Linked DNA regions of Homo sapiens: region 2 is linked to region 1. The links are contacts of gene promoters, found by promoter capture Hi-C in blood cells and fetal thymus (Javierre and others, 2016). All regions are on one chromosome and are shown on one strand. The core of a region is centred on a gene start or on the middle of the fragment in contact, and the rest is flanking DNA. Distances in the headings are between cores, read along the strand shown. Region 1 holds the start of TLR4 (toll like receptor 4). Region 2 overlaps BRINP1 (BMP/retinoic acid inducible neural specific 1).

Region 1 (5,087 bases), core at 1,713-4,212:
TATATACTTTCACTTAATCTTCAAATAAGCATTTAAAGATGAGGAAAATGGAAATTCAAAGAAATGAAGTAATATGCGCAAAGTCAGAGTTCAAACATGCAGATCTTCATTCGTATGTCTGCTTAAATGTTGCAAGCCATGGAGCCTCAAAGACAATATTGTCTAATAGAAACAGTGCCAGGCACTCTTTCTTTGCCCTCTTTTATTCCCTTTCACGGGAAGCACAACCATCTAACATTATGTTGTCTATCTGATTGTTCTCATCGTATTGTTCATCTCCTGTATTCCATTGCAAGTTTGATGGGTTTGCCCACTGCTTTGTCTCCAGCACTCAGAATGGTGTCTGGCAAATGGTTGGTGCTCAATAAATATTTGCTGAATCACTAACTGATTGAATAACTGATTAAATGAAGGTTTACTTAAGTCCAAATTGTAGGCATTTCCTGCCAAGTGCTGTGGGCATTACAAAGAAAAATATGATGCAGCTCCAGACTTCAATGGACTCACAGTCTAGAGTAAGAGTTTAGATAGGAGCAAAGCTAACACTATCTCAAGGGGCCATAAAATAGGCTTAGAAAATATGCCCTGTGGTTCAGAGAAAGCAGAGATCAAGTCTGGATTCAGGAAAGGCTTCCCAGAAAAGGAAGATTTTAAAGTGGGTCTTGGAAGATGAGTAAGGTTTAGATATGTGGAAAGGGGAAGAAAAACATGTCCTAAGGAGAGGACAACGTGAGCACGTAAAGAGTGGAAAACAAACTCAGATTAGCTGGTGAGTGGTGGGAGTGGTGAAATCTAAGTAAGAGGGCAAGCCAGATCAGGAGGGCCTCAGACTTTGTCCTGCAGCAATTATTTCAATCATTTATCACTTACACATCTAGCGGCTACTGTGTGCTGGCCACTGGAAATATAGTGGTAAATAAAACCAGCAATGATCCTGCCTCCTTACCGATTCCATTACAAAGGGAGAGAGAGAAAATAAACAAACAAAAATATAAAATGTTGTGCTCTAGAAAAAAAAATATTAAGCAGTATAAGGGGATTTGAGGCAAATAAGTGAGGCTGGAGAGCTCTACATGGGGCAATCAAGGAAGACTGCCCTGAGGAGGGGACATTTAATCAGAGATCTGAATGGAGTGATTAAAGCATGAAAAGGACTTGGGCTGCACTGACCAATACGGTAGTCACTAGCCATACACAGTTATCAAACACAAGAAATGTGAATAGTGTAAATTGAGAAGTGTGGTAAATGTAAAACATATACTAAATTCCAGACTTAGTACCAAACAAGGAATGTAAAAATATCAATAATAGGTAAATATATATTAAAATTTTAAACATTATTTTAAATACGCTAAGTTAAATAAAACTATTATCGAAATTAAATTCACTTGTTTCTTTTTTTAATGAGGCTACTAAAAACTTTAAAAGTACATATGTGGCTCACATAATATTGCCAATGGATAGCACTGATCTAGCATTCTAGGTAGAAGAAATAGCCAGTGCAAAGGCCCTGTGGTAGAAAGCTGTTCTAATGGCAATGGAGAGTTATTAAAAGTTTTTAAGGAGAGTAATTTGTTAGATTGAAGCCTAAGGAAAAATAATAACAACAAATGCAAGTACATAACAAACAAGAACGTGCAGAATGAATTAAAGGAAGAAGACTGGAATCAGGAAAGCAGTTAGTGTGTAAGAGTCAATGCCAGGGGAAATGAGGGCCTGCCTTACAGTGGAACTAAGGGGATGGGCAGGGATGGACAGGCTTCAGGGACTGACAGGAAAAGGTACATGGGGAAAAGAAGTCAAGTTTGGCTGTGGTTTTATCTCGCAGTGAGCCTAATTAGAAAATCTATCTCCATTAACCTAACAGCAGAGGGATACAGAGAAGAGGACAAGGAGGAGGACTATGGGCAGGGAATTGAGGGAAGGGATGGCTTCAAGATAATGAATTAGTCTTTGCTAAATATTACTTGATTTTCTCCTATATCCTCAACTTCAGGACTGCAGCTGGCTTTTTCTCTCTTGAGTTTCTGACCCTGCCTCACTGTAAATCATTTTCTTAGCTGTTCGGCTCTACTATGGGTTTCTAAAGCAACTGTGAAGTCTGCGCAGGGGAAAAACAAAAGAGATCCATCATGAATAAGATTACCAACCAGCTGATTGGTATTTCACTAAGAAAGAAACTGTTGCATTAGCTGACATTATACATATTTCCCTCTTGCTTTTTTCTTCTCTCTCTCTCTCTTTTCCTTTTTCATTCTCTTATTTTTTTCATCCTCTGGACTAAACTATATTACTGCATACAGAAGTCTGACACCCACTTAGAAAGTTCTTTCTCTAGAGACACACACACAAAAGCCATCTTTTTCCTGAGATTGAAAGGAGCAGGGTGACTGCTTGAAGCTGAGTGTAAAGACCACCAGTGGGAAGAAATGACACTGAAGCAGTCTGCTTACTCTCTAGTGAAGAAGGTATTATAATTCTCTTACAGATGCGAAAACTAGTCTCAGACAGGTTTGATAATTTCTTCACAGAGCCACAAGGTAGCAGAGCAGGGACCTTAAGCAGATCTATGTTATCTCATGCCCCTGTTAGCACTCAAAATTTCCAAATGGAACAAACCCCCAATGGCTGCCTCTAGTGCCCTGTAACAATGAATTATTTGATCTCTGTGGCTTCTTGAGTCTTTAAGGTAATTTAACTCTTTTTTTTTTTTGCAAAAATAAACAAACCAGGGCACACAGTGAGAAGTTCTGGGCAGAAGTGAGGGAAAGTTCAGAGGAGCTGACTCCAGCCACATACCTCCACGCAGGGCTCCCAGCTTTCTGGTCTCACGCAGGAGAGGAAGGCCATGGCTGGGATCAGAGTCCCAGCCAGGCGCGAGGCAGACATCATCCTGGCATCATCCTCACTGCTTCTGTGAGCAGCAGTGGCCCTGTGAATGCGTGGCTCGCTATCACCGTCTGACCGAGCAGTTTCTGAGGCACTGGTGTCTTCTCTTCCTCGAGCCGCCCCACAGCAATTGGTGTATTCAAAGCAGTTCTGGGCTAAAGGGTGAGAGGAAGTGAAAGCGGCAACCTTAGCATTCTGGACTTTTGTTTCTCTAATAGTTATCTCTTTTGTCACAGGAGAGGAAGTTAGAAGAAGAAAACGCCTGCAGACCAGTGGCTAAAGAAACAGCAAGAGGAAGCTAGTTGGCTTTTATCCCAATTAGTCATCTGACCTCTGCCTGGGCTTGGTGAATTTAGGAAAACAATCAGGTTCTATTAAAATAGCCCTTGTAACTCTCTAGGATGACGGTGATTTTCCAATTTTGTTTCAGCTGTGGAAACACTATTTGTATTAGTTTGCTGGGGCTGCCATAAGGAAATACCACAGACTGGGTGGCTTAAACAACAGACATTCATTTTCTCACAATTCTAGAGGCTTCCAGTCTGAACTCAAGGTGTCAGCAAGTGTGTCTGAATTCTAATCTCCCCTTCTTATAAGGACACCAGTTATGTTGGATTAGGGCCCACCATAATGACCTCATTCTACCTTACATACCTCTTTCAAGGCTCTCTCTCCATATACAGTCATAGTCTGAGGTAGAGGGGTTAGGACTTCGATATGTAGGTTTTTGCAGGACACAATTTGGCCCGCCCCTTCTTGTGAAGAAACTCACATACAAAACTGAAAATAAACCTCAACTGAAACACAGTTTGAAAAGTACAAGAAGATTGGGAAAAGTCTGGGATTTCAGAATGGAATATACTGAAGTTCAGATCTCAGCTGGGTGACTCATGGCTTTGAGGCATTGGTCAAGTCATGTAAACCGCTAAGCTTTACTTTCTTTCTTTTCTTTTTTCATTTTCTGTATTATGGTAAAATCACATAACATAACATGACATAACATAAAATTTATTATCTTGACCATTTGTATGTGTACAATTTAGTGGCATTAATTATGTTCATATTTTTGTACAATCATCACCACTATTCATTAATAAATAACTCCCCATTTCCCCTTTCCCTAGGCCCTTGAATCTATGCACTACTTTTGTCTCTATAATCTTGACTACTCTAGGCAGCTCTTAGAAGTGGAATCATACAGTATGTATCTTTTTGTCACTGGCTTATTTCACTTTGCATAATGTCCTCAAGGTTCTTTTCTGTGTAGTATAGATCAAAGCCTCCTTCCTTTTTAAAGCTGAACAATATTCCATTGTATGTATAGACCACATTTTGCTTATCCATTTGTCTGTTCATGGACACTTGCATTGTTGCCACACGTTAGCTATTGTGAATAATGCTGCCATAAACATGGTTGTACAAATATCTCTTAAAGTCTCTGTTTTCAATTCTTTTGGATACGTACTCAGAAGTGAGATTGCTGGATCATGTGGTAAATCTATTTTTAATTTTTTGAGCACCCACCATATGATTCTCCACAGCATCTGTACCATTTTACATTCCCACAAATGGTGTACAGGAGTTCTCATTTTTTCACATCTTCACCAACACTTATTATTACTTTCTGGTCTGTAAAATGTGGTAATCACTTTTAATCATAGCAGAAGCTTGCATTTATAAAATGTATTAAAATAAAGATACGCAATGGTAGTCAAATTATACAAACCTACCAACCTTTAGTTTTCTGGTCTTTAAAACGAAGATAATCGCATGTGTTTTGAATTACTGAATTAAGCTAACTTACGTAAAACGTCTAGTCTAGAGCATCATCATTACATTCCATAAATGAGAGCTATGATGAGGATTGAAAATGTGGATAGAATGAAGATGATAATATGTATCTCAAAGTATTGTATTGGGATTAAATGAACTGGCATTTGTAAAGCTTTTAGGACAGTGTCTGGAAAGTAGCAAGTGCAATGTAAGTTTCTGTTAAATAAGAACCTGATTTAAAACAGGAATATTATGCATGCTAAGTCCTAGATAGTTCTACTGTAATATCCTCCAAGCACTTCCAATCCAACGTGTCAAAAACCAAGCTGTGAGGGACCATTTTGTGGTGGACTGGGCACAAACTCTTGTAGACTCCATCAACACACCAGTAGAGTTAAGATAAAAACAACCTCCATGTCAAAGCT
Region 2 (4,701 bases), core at 1,383-3,882, 1.6 Mb before region 1:
GAATGTAATACTCAAAAGAGGAACTGAAAGTAAATGTGCTTGGTAAACCATGCACTGTCATGTAAATATGGGCCCTATTGTTCCTGTTTACAGGCATGAGGGACGGACTTTGGATTCCTTTCCCTGCTCTGATGGAAGATAGTGCTTTGGTACCTAATAATTGCATTCAAATGGTCTGATTTCAGACTATCACTTTAGGATAACAAAATGAGCAGCAGTTGTAATATTGGAGACGGACTGTTAGATGTCCTATCTTTTAGATGTCCAGAATAAATGTGCGAGAATAGTTGACCCAGACAAATTGACTGATGAAAGGATAACTTGTGCTTCAATATAATGAGTTCAATATTCTTTTGATTTACGAAAAGGCACTGGGGCACCCAGGCCCGGATGCTTGTCAGCAAGAGAAAAATGGAGGTTGCATTGCAGTTCCTGCAGACAGAACAAAGTTCTTTCTCTGTTTCAGCTCAACCTGCATTTGTTATTATTTTATTATTATTATTAATTATTAGAAAGGGAAAGGAAAATAATACTAAAGACCAGGGGTTTCAGGAGGCAGAATTGTCTTACCGTATAATTAGCCCAGCCCTGATGCTGCCAGTTGAACCTAAATGAGCAGGATAATGGGAGAAAGTCCAAAATAGAATCCTGTTAGGGTTCATTTCAGAACCAAGAAGGAAGTTGAAAAATAAAACAAAAAGAATGGAACGAATAAACTTGTGTGATATGATACAGAATATGGTATTATTAGCTAAAGCTTATATAGCTCTATTAAGTCATTTATACTTGAGTGCAACCCTTGTGACAGCTGTAGCCTTTAACCCATTTTACAGATGAGGAAATTGAGGCTCAGAAAAGTAATATGGCCAGGGTCACACAGCTGGGAAGTCACACAACTCTGATTTGAACCCAGGCAATCTGGTTCCACAGTCTGTGCTCGTTACCACTGGCTATACAGGGCGCTGAGAAGGTGAAGGGAGCGCAGCCTTGGGAACCAAGGAGCCCGTGTCCTCCTCTGTCCTCAACACTGTATCATCCACCTTGTGACCTGAGCATATTATAACCCTGAGCCTCAATTCCCTCTATAATATTCATGTTTTGGACAAAATAATTGCTAAAATACTATCCATTTCTTTTCTTTTTAAGTTTTATTGAAGTATAATTGATGAATAGGAATTGTATACACTTAAGGTATGCAACTAGATGTTTTGACATATGTATACATTGTGAAATTACCCCCACAATCAAGCTAATTAAGGTGTCCATCACCCACACAGTAACTATTTTCCGTCTCTTTTTTTGTGATGAGAACACTTAAGATTATTCTCTTAGCAAATTTCAAGAATATAATATAGCATTTTTAACTATAGTCACCATGCTGTATATTAGCTCTCCAGAACTTACTTATTTGGCATAACAGAAACTTCGTTCGTACCCTTTGACCAAACTCTCCCCATTTCTCCCTTCCCCCTATTTCTGGCAACCATCATTCTACTCTCTGCTTCTGTAAGTTTGATCCTTTTAGATTCCACATACAAGTGAAATCATGCAGTATTTGTCTTTCTGTGCCTGGCATATTTCATTTAGCATAATGTCCTCCAGGCCCATACATGTTACAAATGGCAGGATTTCTTTCTTTTTAAAGGTTGAATAATGTTTCACTTTGTGTGTGGGTGAGTGTGTGTGTCCATTCATCTGTTGATGGACATTTATGTGGATTCCATATTTTGGTTATTGTGAGAAACTCTGCAATGGACATGAGAATGCAGATAGCTCTTCAACATACTAATCTCATTTCCTTTGGATAAATACCTATAAGTGGGATTGCTGGATCATATATTAGTTCTAGTTGTAATTTTTTGAAGAACTTCCATACTGTTTGTTTTCCAAAATGGCTGTATAAATTTGCATTCCCATCCACATTCTTGCTAACACGTTATTTTTCAAAATTTTATAATACCTATTCTAACACGTGCAAGGTAATAGCTCATTGTGGTTTTGATTTACATTTTCCTGATGATTAGTGATATTGAGTATGTTTTTGTGTACCTGTTGGCCATTTGTATGTCTTCTTGAGAAAAATGCCTATTCAGGTCCTTAGCCCATTTTTACATCGAGTTATTTCTTTCTTTTGCTGTTCATTTATTTGAATGCTTTATATATTTTGAAAATTAACCACTCATTAGATATATGGTTTGCAGATATTTTCTCCCATTCCATAGGTTGCTTTTTCTCTCTGTTGATTGTTTCTTTTGATATACAGATACTGCTTAGTTAGATGGAATCCCACTTGTCTATTTTTGCTTTGGTTTCCTGTGCTTTTAGGGTCATATCCAAAGGAATCATTGCCCAGACCAATGTTAAGAAGGTTTATCTCTGTTTTCTTCTAGTGTTTTTATGGTTCCTGGTTTTACCTTTAAGTTCTTAATTCATTTTGAGTTGATTATTGTATATGGTCTGAGATAAAGGTGCAATTTCCTCCTTTTGCATGTGGGTGTCTTGTTTTTCTAACAACATTTATTGAAGAGAGAACCTTTTCCTCATTGTGTGTGGTTGGAACCCTTGTTGAAGACGAATTGACAATACATGCCCAGGTTTATTTCTGGTCTCTCTATTCTGTTCAATTTTGTCTGTATGTTCATTTTTATGCCAGTACCATACTGTTTTGAATACTGTAGCTTTGTAATGCAGTGACACACTGCATGATGATGTTTCAGTCAACAACACACTGTGTATATGACAGTGTTCCTATATGATTATAATACCATATTTTTACTGTGCCTTTTCTATGTTCAGATATATTTGATACATGAATATTTACCATTGTATTACAATTGCTTACAGTAGTCAGTAAAGTAACATCTTGTACAGATTTGTAGCCTAAGAGCAATAGGCTATGCTATAGAGCCTAGGTGTGTAGTAGGATATATCATCTAGGTTGGTGCAAGTATACTCTGTGATGTTTGTACAATGACAAAATCATCTACTGATGTATTTCTCAGAATGTATTCCTGTCCACTTTCAGAGTCTGAGGTGGATGGATTGCTTGAGGCCAGCAGTTTGAGACCAGCCTAGGCAACATAAATGAAACCCCGCCTCTACCAAAAATGCAAAAATTAGCCAGTCTCATAACCCAGTCTCAAAAAATAAATAATTAAAAAAAAATTAAAAATAATAAAAAATAATGCATTCCTATCATTAAGTGATACATGCCAGTATATTTTAAAATCGAGAAGTGGGATGCATTCGTCTTTGTTCCTGTATAAGATTTCTTTGGCTATTTGGGGTCTTTTGTAGTTCCACACATATTTTAAGTTTTTTTTTTCTATTTCTATAAAGAATGCAAAATTTGATAGAGATTGCATTGGATATGTAGATCAGCTGGGTATTATGGACATTTTAACATTATTAATCCAATTCATGAACACGTGCTACCTTTCCATTTATGTGTGTCTTTTTTTTTTTTTTTTTTAACGTAGTGTCACTCTGTTGCTCAGGCTAGAGTGCAGTGGTGTGATCTCGGCTCACTGCAACCTCCACCTCCTGGGTTCAAGTGATTCTCCTACCTCAGACTCCTAAGTAGCTGAGAATACAGACACATCTGGCTAATTTTTGTATTTTTAGTAGAGATGGGGTTTTACTATGTTGGCCAGGCTAGTCTCAAACTCCTGACCCCAGGTGATCTGCCCATCTCAGCCTTCCAAAGTGCTGGGATTACAGGTGTAAGCCACCGCACCCAGCCTTTCTGTGTCTTTTTAAATTTCCTTCATCAATGTGTTTTGTCGTTGTTGTTGTTTTGGAAATGAAGTTTCATCTCTGTTGCCAAGGCTGGAGTGCAGTGGTATGATCTCGGCTCACTGCAACCCCCAACTCCAGCTTCAAGCGATTCTCCTGCCTCAGCCTCCTGGGTAGCTGGGATTATAGGCATATGCCAACACGCCCAGCTAGTTTTTGTACCTTTAGTAGAGGGTTTCACTATATTGGCCAGGCTGGTCTCAAACCCCTGACCTCAGATGATTCATCCGCCTCGGCCTCCCAAAGTGCTGGGATTACAGGCATGAGCCACCGTGCCCAGCCTCATCAACGTTTTATAATTTTCAGAATATATGTCTTTTACTTCTTAACTGTATCCCTAAGTGTTTTATACTTTTTCTTACTATTGTAAATGGGGTTGTTTTTATAATTTTTAAGATATTTCATTGTTAGCATTATTTTTGGATAGTTCACAGATTTCTGTATGTTTATTTTGTATCTTCAACTTCATTAAATTTATTTATAAGTTGTACCATTTTTGTTGTTACTGAGTCTTTAGGATTTTCTATATGATCATCATATCATCTGCAAACAGAGATAATTTTACTTCTTTTTTTATTTGAATTACTTTTATTACTTTTATGTATTTAATTTTTCTTGTCTAATTACTCAGCTAAGACTTCCAATACTATGCTGAATAGAAGTGGTGAGTGGGCATCCTAGCCTTGTACTGAATCTTAGAGGAAAAGCTTTTAGTTTCCATTTACAATACTCCATAGCTCTTATTTTTCCATCTTCTTCGTTTTCTTTTTTTTCTTTTCTCTTCTCACTCTTCTACCTCCTATTCAAATATACTATCTATATGCAATGCTTTAAAATTCACAAAACAATGTCTCATATGAGGTAGTAATAATATCTCATTTTACAGATGACGTAGCAAAGGCTTTG

What was found. The method cuts DNA at HindIII sites, captures the fragments that hold promoters and counts their contacts. A CHiCAGO score of 5 or more calls a contact.
Region 2: a contact is called between a fragment that was not itself captured here and the fragment with the promoter of TLR4 in region 1, in 2 of 17 cell types (M1 macrophages and M0 macrophages). The highest score is 7.4, in M1 macrophages.

What each region holds. Positions count from the first base shown.
Region 1 is chr9:117,702,278-117,707,364 of GRCh38, reverse strand. TLR4 (toll like receptor 4) reads right to left here and starts at 2,962. Exons shown (of 3, transcript NM_138554.5): 1 at 2,800-2,962. The coding sequence starts at 2,892. RefSeq lists enhancers at 1,077-2,276, 2,392-2,892, 2,863-2,932, 2,943-2,992, 2,893-3,393 and 1 more. The HindIII fragment of the contact is 5,259 bases long and covers 1-3,821 here.
Region 2 is chr9:119,293,625-119,298,325 of GRCh38, reverse strand. The region is part of intron 2 of BRINP1 (BMP/retinoic acid inducible neural specific 1); the gene reads left to right. Among named protein-coding and RNA genes, the nearest start is that of BRINP1, 73 kb to the left of the region's middle. RefSeq lists an enhancer at 1-474. The HindIII fragment of the contact is 3,745 bases long and covers 760-4,504 here.